Linked DNA regions of Homo sapiens: all the other regions are linked to region 3. The links are contacts of gene promoters, found by promoter capture Hi-C in blood cells and fetal thymus (Javierre and others, 2016). All regions are on one chromosome and are shown on one strand. Each heading gives the region's core, a stretch centred on a gene start or on the middle of the fragment in contact. The rest is flanking DNA. Distances are from core to core; before and after follow the strand shown.

The links. The method cuts DNA at HindIII sites, captures the fragments that hold promoters and counts their contacts. A CHiCAGO score of 5 or more calls a contact.
Region 1: a fragment that was not itself captured here is called in contact with the fragment with the promoter of MARCHF4 in region 3 in 1 of 17 cell types (endothelial precursors); the score reaches 5.9 in endothelial precursors.
Region 2: a contact is called between a fragment that was not itself captured here and the fragment with the promoter of MARCHF4 in region 3, in 2 of 17 cell types (endothelial precursors and total CD8 T cells). The highest score is 7.4, in endothelial precursors.

The regions. Positions count from the first base shown.
Region 1 is chr2:216,286,261-216,288,960 of GRCh38, reverse strand. The region is part of intron 1 of MARCHF4 (membrane associated ring-CH-type finger 4); the gene reads left to right. Among named protein-coding and RNA genes, the nearest start is that of MARCHF4-AS1, 16 kb to the left of the region's middle. The HindIII fragment of the contact is 1,844 bases long and covers 353-2,196 here.
Region 2 is chr2:216,266,622-216,269,669 of GRCh38, reverse strand. The region is part of intron 3 of MARCHF4 (membrane associated ring-CH-type finger 4); the gene reads left to right. Among named protein-coding and RNA genes, the nearest start is that of MARCHF4-AS1, 35 kb to the left of the region's middle. The HindIII fragment of the contact is 2,099 bases long and covers 643-2,741 here.
Region 3 is chr2:216,370,877-216,373,793 of GRCh38, reverse strand. MARCHF4 (membrane associated ring-CH-type finger 4) reads left to right here and starts at 1,311. Exons shown (of 4, transcript NM_020814.3): 1 at 1,311-2,917. The HindIII fragment of the contact is 3,541 bases long and covers 988-2,917 here.

The DNA of each region.
Region 1 (2,700 bases), core at 25-2,524, 85 kb after region 3:
GTCTTCAGTGTTTACCTTTGTTCTCCTGATGGAGAGGGAGAGGCAGGATAACTTTTGTCTTTGTAAATCTATGTCCTGCTTTTATGCAAATAGAGAAAGAGCAGAGAGCTCTCCTAAATCTGCTGCTTCTTAATTGTCTTAGCTCAACACGCCTTCGTATTTTGGGGAGGCATATTATTGTCTCCCACTGCAGTGAGCGGAATACATCTGTTCTCCCTCCCACCACCTCCATCACAACCAAGGCTAAAAGGGTCACCTCCTGCCTCCTGCCTCCTGCCTCTAGCACGACCCCACTTAACCCATGCAAGAGGCCTGCACTCTTCTTCTGTTTGGCATCCCCTGAAAAGAAGCTTCCCCAGATGCTCCCAGTGTCCCCAAGGTGACATAAGGAACAATCTTGGGCTAGAAGTCAGGGTCCCTTATCCATCCCAGGAGGGCAGAGTCTCTTAGAAAATTCTTTAATCTTTACTGCTCTTGGTGACTCAACTGACTCTTTTCTTTAGGCGGTCGTTCCCTTCCTTATCTATTTCACCTGTCTTAGAGTGACAGTAGGAAATAGAGTTGCAGAAGAAAAAACTATGAAATTAAAGTTCTTACAGAAATGTGAGTTAGAATTGTAATAGTTTAACAGGAGGACTTACTTGTGCCATGCACTGTGTCAAACTCTTGCATATATGATCTCATTTAACCCTTACAGGCCAGGCACAATGGCTCACGCCTGTAATCCCTACACTTTGGGAGGCTGAGGCCGGAGGATCATTTAAGCCTAGGAGTTTGAGATCAGCCTGGGCTACGTGGTGAAATCTCACCTCTACAAAAAGTACAATACATGTTGCTGGGCATGGTGGCATGTGCCTGTAGTCCCAGCTACTCAAGAGGCTGAGGTGGGAGGATCACTTGAGCCTGGGGAGCTCAAGGCTGCAGTGAGCCATGATCATGCTACTCTGCACCCCAGCCTGGGCAACAGAGTGAAATCGTGTCTCAAAGGAAAAAAAAAATCCTTACAATTACCCTTGAGGAGGTAAGAGTTACTTGCAACGGAAAGATGAAGAAATGGAGCCTCAGAGAGGTTAAGAGACTTGGCTAAATTTGCACAGCTGGTGAACAGACACTCAAAAACAAAGCGGCTGTTTCCCAAAACCATGTTCTTTTTTTTTTTTAATTTTATTATTATTATACTTTAAGTTTTAGGGTACATGTGCACAACCTGCAGGTTTGTTACATATGTATACGTGTGCCATGTTGGTGTACTGCACCCATTAACTCGTCGTTTAGCATTAGGTATATCTCCTAATGCTATCCCTCCCCCCTCCCCCCACCCCACAACAGTCCCGGGTGTGTGATGTTCCCCTTCCTGTGTCCACGTGTTCTCATTGGGAATTGAACAATGAAACCATGTTCTTCACCACTCCCCCACAGTGTGTCCCTTGGGGGCCAGATGATTAGAGAAGATCCCATTTTTCTTGTTTTAGTCATTCCCAGGGCAGTCTCTGGCCCCAGCACTCTGAGCAGATCATTGAGGAAGTGTCTGGTGCCCTTTGCATTTAATGAGTCCCTTTGATCTGTGGAGTTTGCTGAGCTCTGCAAACAAGATCACAGTAATCCTCCCAGCCCAAATGCTGGAGCCGCAGTAGCTGGACCAGAGGGGCTTTTCCTTTCCCATACCCTAGGGCCTGTTCAATTAGTAAGCACGCCTTAATTGTACATCGCTGATGTGCTCAGTTCTAGGGGGTATGTAGGAGCAGCTCTAATCCCAGAGCATTTGAAAATGGTGAAGTACCAAACTGTGGATGATGGTGGGAGACTTGGCTGAGGGTCTGAGCTGGGCCAGGAATTGGGGTGGGACCTGGAGAAGGGGAGACTTACAGGCACAGGTGCAGGTGGGGCAGCAGGATCCAGAGGATGGAAGGTGGATGAGCACAGCGGGTGGTGAAGCTCAGCGTCTGACGCCCGTGTGACCTTGAGTGAGTCATTTAACCTTTCTCCTCAATCAGAGATATCTCTTATATTGAGAGAATTTTACTAGGGTAGAGGGGGCGAGAATTCATCTCAGTGTCCATGTAGCTTTTAACAGAGCTTACTGCAAAGAGCGTCTTCCTAAGTTTAGCTTGAATCCATCTGGCTCATTTCCACTTCTGTTGTTCTTGGAGACATACAGGTCTGACCAGTAGTTGGCAAAGAGTCCCTGTGAAAGCTTTTTAGAAGCCCTAAACACTAAAAAGATGATGGGCTTTCCCCGAAATGTATATAGAAATACACTAAATCATAACCTACAAAATTTGCCTGAATGCAAGAGTTAAAATAGCTCGTTTCTCTGGATTCCACCCAACCCCCACAGCAAATACCCAATCATCACTTCCTTTTTCCTTTATCAAAGTTAAACTTTTCTAACAGTTTGTTGTCCTTGCTTTATTTTCTTCTTCTTCTTTTTTTTTTTTTTAGATGGAGTTGCACTCTGTCGCCCAGGCTGGCACTGCAACCTCTGCCTCTGCCTCCTTGGTTCAAGTAATTCTCCTGCCTCAGCCTCCCGAGTAGCTGGCGTTTTAGGAGCATGCCACCATGGCCAGCTAATTTTTATATTTTTTGTAGAGATGGGGTTTCGCCATGTTGGCCAGGCTGGTCTTGAACCCCTGACCTCAAGTGATTCACCTGCCTCGGCCTCCCAAAGTGTGGCATTACAGGCGTGAGCCACTGCACCTG
Region 2 (3,048 bases), core at 443-2,942, 100 kb after region 3:
GTGTGTCCTTGTAATCATCAGGGACCAGGTAGGAAGCGCTTGATCAGGGTGGATTCCCCTCAGAGGGAACACTCAAGAAAGGTTTGCCGAAACTGTTATAATCAGAATGCAGCTACAGCCTAGATATAGAGATCGCCTGAACCTGTGTCCTCACGTCATTAAAAGTCTGCTCTTATTTGGAGTAGTGCTTTTTCTTGAAGGTTCTTTGTTCCCTCACCTATGTCCCCTCAATGAGAAGATCTGATTATATCTAATGTCCTCGTTCCACCTGCCTCCTCTTCTGTCATCTCTAATGACGCTGTCCTCTGCTGCAGAGAAGCTGACAGAGCCTCCCAGCAAACAAATGGGGTATTCTCTGCTCCACTGGGTCAAGTTATTAGGATTTAACAAGAGCAAATTAATTAAGGGCTTTGGCACCAAAAAAACATTTTTTTAACTCCACAGATGTAAGAGATTGGACATCAAATAGTCAACTCTGCAAAAATGAGGCTCTCTTCTTCATCATGTTTGTTTTTAACTTGTGATTGATATGGGGTCAGGGGAAGGAAGGAAAGGAATGTTCCTGAGATTATTTCCAAAGCTTTAAAACAGTAGAATATGGTAATCAGCAAAATTATAGAAAGTTTTGTTTTTTTTTAAGCTTCCTCTGTGTGTGGTCCCCTGAGGTTCTTTTCAGTGATTTAAAGATGCCTGGCCCCTGTCCTCTGAGATGAAGGAATTTAAATCTCATTTTATAGCAAATAGGCAGAGGATGGGGGCAGCAGGATTGTACAAACATTTTTCTTTCAAACCTAATTTTAACCCACGTTAACTACAAAACATACATATGCCACAAAAATTCCTTCCTCTCCTCCTAGCTAGAAATGACTCTACCTGTAAAACCTTTTAATTTCCTGATTAGGAAACTTGGAACATTTGTTGGAGGCAGCCTAGTGCAGTACGAGAAACTAGGAAGCAGATCTAGGTCTGAAGACCAGAATAGCTACTATATTAGTCCATTTTCACACTGCTATAAAGGACTTCCCTGATACTGGGTAATTTATAAAGGAAAGAGATTTAATTGACTCAGTTCCACATGGCTTGGGAGGCCCCAGGAAACTTACAATCATGGCAGAAGTGGAAGGAGGCACCTTCTTCACAAGGCAGCAGGAGAGAGAAGAATGAAGGAGGAACTTCCAAACACAGATCTTGTGAGAATTCACTCACTATCACAAGAACAGCATGGGGGAAACCGCCTCCATGATCCAATCACCTCCCTCCCTTGACATGTAGGGATTATAGGTCCCTTTCTTGATACACGGGGATTACAATTCAAGATGAGACTTGGGTGGGAACACACAGCCAAACCATATCGGCTACTAATCACCTCTATGGCCTTGGACAAGTTACTCCCTCTCTCTACAGTTAGTTCCTCATCTATAAATGAGAGGGGTGAAACCGACAACCTCCAGGTTCCTTCCAGGTCTGACATCCCAGGATTTTGATGTCACCTCCACACTGAGATGCCAGGGCTTGCAAAGGCTGACACTTGTGACCGTGGGGCATCCCCAGCAATATTGGGCTGGGCCACAAAACTGACATGAGAAGCAGCAGCTGTAGAAACTGGCGAGATGATGCCCATCCACGTTCTGTTACTTGCATGTAGCTTATCTGGTTTTCTAGATTCCGTGTTAACTCCTTCCCACCCACCCGGGGCCTCCTGTGACGGCCACCAATCTCCACAGCCAAGTGGCTGGTTGCTTAGAGATGAAGATGACTGATTTAGAAGCAGATGCACTGTCCTTTTCCAAAGAGACCCCTCGAGAGGCATTTCATTTATCCCAGTTGTTCTGACAAAGCTCAACATATTTTAGGAATATTTCTTGGGAACTGTCTTTGGCACAGAACAGATTCAGGAGTGGCCTGTCTGTTGGCAGTGGGTTTGTGACTAGAAATAGCCCCAATTTGATAAATAAGGTGGAAGCTCAAGCCAGCTAATACATTTTGGGGACAATATGAAACACGCCATCAAGCCACAAACTTCTTTTCTTGTGTGGTCCCTAACCTAGAGCTATAGGTATGTTAGTTAGGGTAACTTCAGCAGATAGAAAAAAATAAGCCCCTATGTGTCAGTGGTTTAACCCAATAGAAGTTCCTGAGCAGTAGGAGATTCTCTTCCACACAGCAATTTGGAGTCCCAAACTCCTTCCATCTCTGGGCTCCACAGGCCCCTTGGGCTGCTGAGTCTTTTGCCTCCAGCTAATAGAAAATTAAACAGAGCATGAAGAAGTCGTCTTCTGCCCCAGCCTTGCACAAGTTTTCTCTCAATACCCATTTCTTTTTTCTTTGTTTTTATTTTTATTGGGCAAACCTCATTCTATAAAATCAAATGGAATGAGTGTTCCCTAGACCCATTTCTTAAATGCTGGCCTGGCTTGTGGTCACATTCAGTACTAGTCACCTGGTCTCACCTTGGTGCAAAAAGCTAGAAAATGTAACTTCTCAGTGGCAACTTTATACCAAGGAAAGGGAGTGTGGATTTTAGTGGACCGTTAGCCATCTCTGTCACAGAAGGCCAACCCCACTGAGCAATTTCCAGAAATGTTCTGAACTGGGATAGCCCAATAGGAGTAAATACCCTATTTCCAAAGGGCAATCCTTGGGATTTTAAAAGACAAAACTCTGATTCGATATAGAAAGGTGTTGGCATGTTTACTTAAATAAACTACTTTTGTAACTTTATGGTAACTTTATAATAAGCTTTGTAATTTTATAATAGCTCATGTGACGTGTAGCCTGGCCATACCTGTGTCCAGTATAAAGCTGCACCCTGGAGAATACTGGGCAGGCAGTGATGTTGTCAACCTGGCCTTTCCCAGCAGTACCCCCTGAACTCACCCAAAATAGCCGGTTATATTCATTTCTTTCAACCGTTCCCTGATATGTGCTTTGGTCCAGGTTCTTAACAGGGCTGGGCACTGGAGGAGTGGAATCTGGAAGATGGGTGGTTGGCAATGGTAGGGCTTCAGAGTGAGACACTACTAAGCCTCACCCCATAGCTGTCTGACA
Region 3 (2,917 bases), core at 62-2,561:
ATGTAGGTCCTTTCTCCTTAGAGCTTGTAGGAATGAATCATTTCATAGAGATGGCAGCAAAGGGGTAGTTTTCTTATGACTCATTGGACTGAACTTCGTTCCAATGATATTTTGCTGCAGAAATTTTGCATGCTACTCTGTCTATGGCTCCAATATTTGTAAAGGCATTACCATGGCTGTTTGGATGAATCACTGGCATATCTTCTCTATGGCCCTAGAGGGGTGTGTGTGTGTGTGTGTGTGTGTGTGTGAGAGAGAGAGAGAGAGAGAGAGAGCGGGGTGGGGGAGAGAGGTTTATAAGGAAAGGCAAAAAAAGCAATCCTAAGTTTTCAGTGACCAAAGTCTACAGCTGCAAACACTGAGGTTTTATATAGACCACTTTAAGTTTCCTTCTTTTTCTTGCTCTTCACATTTAGGGGCACTTTGCTGCTCAAGAAACTCCTTGAGAAAAATAGGGTAGGGTGACATGAGTCAGTAGCAGAAATAGGAGAGGAAATTAAAATCCATTTCAAATTACCTCTTGTCAGCGGCTCAGTGAAAGGCTTGAATAGGGAGGAGGCTGGGGATGTTGGTGAAGACGAAGCTGAAATATTGCTCTGGATTCTTATGACTCACAATTGAAAGAGCACTGTGACTTATAGTAATGATGACTGTGGTGATGGTGGCCACAAGCCATTCAACAAATATGCATTGAACATTTACTAGATGCCATCTCTGACTTAGGCACACGGGATCAAATGAATTAAAAAAATTATCTCTGTCAATTGGAGCTTAAATTCTAGGCGAAGAAGCTGACAAAAAAATGGTACTAGCAACCTCCTCCCTGTTTGAAAATTTGAAGCATTTCCTTCTCATGTCTCAAGCCTCAATGAAACATTTCCTTCTCATGTCTCATGTCTCAAGCATTTCCTTAGTCATGAGGAATTTAATCTCCATCAAGTCCCAGCTTCATTGTGGAAGTCACAAAACTTTATCTCCTCGAAAGCTTGCAGACTGAGATCTACTTTAAATGTTTATGTGAACAGAGAAACGGTCTCTGGTTGACAGGTGTCTGTGTCTTGTATGTGCAATGAGAGGAGCTGTGATAGTGGACAGTGGGCAGAGAGTCTACAACCAGACCTTCCACACCGACACGTTCCTGCTGAGGTGAAATGCAAGAGTTAGTGCCTGAATCGCTCCCCTCCCTCCCCGTGGCCTTTCTCCTTCTTTCTTTTACTCTTCACTTCGCTCCCTCCTCCTTCCCTTCCTAAATCCCTCCCTCTCCTGGTTACCTCCCTTTCCCTTGGTCCCTCCCCATCCCCTTCCCTCGCACAGTTCTCTCCTCCTCTTGCTCCCTCTCCCTCCAGCTTCTTTTCCTCTCATCCCCTTTCCCTCCTCCATCCCTCCGCGGCGTCTGCGTCAGGCCCCCACGAGCGTGACGCGCGGGGTCTGGGTGGGAGCTGTCCACTCGCCCGGGGTGCTGAATGCAGCAGCGGCGGCCGCGGCGCCGGCGGCGGAGATAGCCGAGAGCCTCCCTCGCTGCAAGAACCTTGTTTCCAGTTCTCGGACGGTCAGCTCGCCGCCCCGCCACCTCCCTTCCAGCACCACCCCTTTGGGAATCGAGCCAGTGGGGGCAGCGGCGGGTGCTGAGCAACGGCGGAAGACGAGACAACACCTGGCAGCAGCCTGGAATCTGATTTGCTTCCTCTCGGCTTTTATAAGAGATATATTTATATACGGTTTTGGGGAGTCGCGAGGACCAAGCTGGAGCCAAGTGCCGGCTGCCTCCCACCTCGGCCACACTGCTTCGCTCCCCCCTCCCCACCTTCAGCTGGCACCGCAAACAAGCCTTACCTCGTTGCATCTGCGAGGAGAGGTAGCAACAGCGAGCCTAGCCAGCCAGAGGCGGTGGAGAGGAGGAAGGGGCGGGGTGGGGGGGCAGAGAGCGGGCCGAGGCCGCCCTTGGTGGGGGTAGCGGGGGCAGAGCTGCCGAGCAGACCCGGCAGCCGCCCTCCTCCGCCCCCACCCTCCAGAAGCACTCTTGCCTGAGAACCGAATTATTCCACTAGTATTATTTCATTTTTTATTACTCCCCCTCCTCACTCCCCAGCCGCCCCCACCCCCACGCCGGCCTCGCCTCTGGTTGCATGGCAGCGCTGCCCGGGCGCGGGGGCTCAGGGCTGGCCCCCAGGGAAGGGGGAGGAGGAGGAGGATCATGAAGGCCGGAGTCGCGACCGCGCCGGACGGCGGGCAGCAGCCAGAGGACGAGCCGGAGCAGCCCCCGCCCCGGAGACACCCGGACGCCGAGCAGCAGTCGCCTCCGCCGCCGCAGCAGCAGCTGCGGGCGCGGGCCGACCCGGAGCCGGAGGAGGAGGGCGACCGCGACCCAGAGGAGGAAGAGGAGGAGAAGGCGAGGCCACTCGCCCGCCCGGACCTGCCCTTCTCTCGGCTCTTGCCCCTCGACCGAAGGGACCTTTGATGGAACCGAGGGGAGGGCGCCACGGATTTGCCGACTGCAGCAGGGGTGGGCTGGGGGCTGAGATAATGTAACCACTCCTTTCTCCTGTTCTCTCCCACACGCCCCTCTCCTCTACCCCTATTCTCTGCTCCACTGCCCTCTCACCCCGGTACACACACCCTTCCTCTAGCCAGGATCTTCATGCTCAGGAAGGAGGCGCCTCTGCAAGGGTTAAACGATCTTTTCTTTTTCTCCCATCCTTTTTCCTTCCCAAACCTCTATTTTACCTCCCTTCTCCTAATTGGCTTTCCCCTCTTCGGTGTAACCCTTTGGCTGCGGAGGCAAAGCACAAGCCCCTAGCCCAGTTTCACCTGCAACACCCCTCCCCCACCCAACTGCTCTCTTAAAAGCAACTCTGGTGCTTCTGGGGGTTAATTGCCCCAGTTTTCTGCCCAGGAGAATTAAAACTTCTCCCAATCT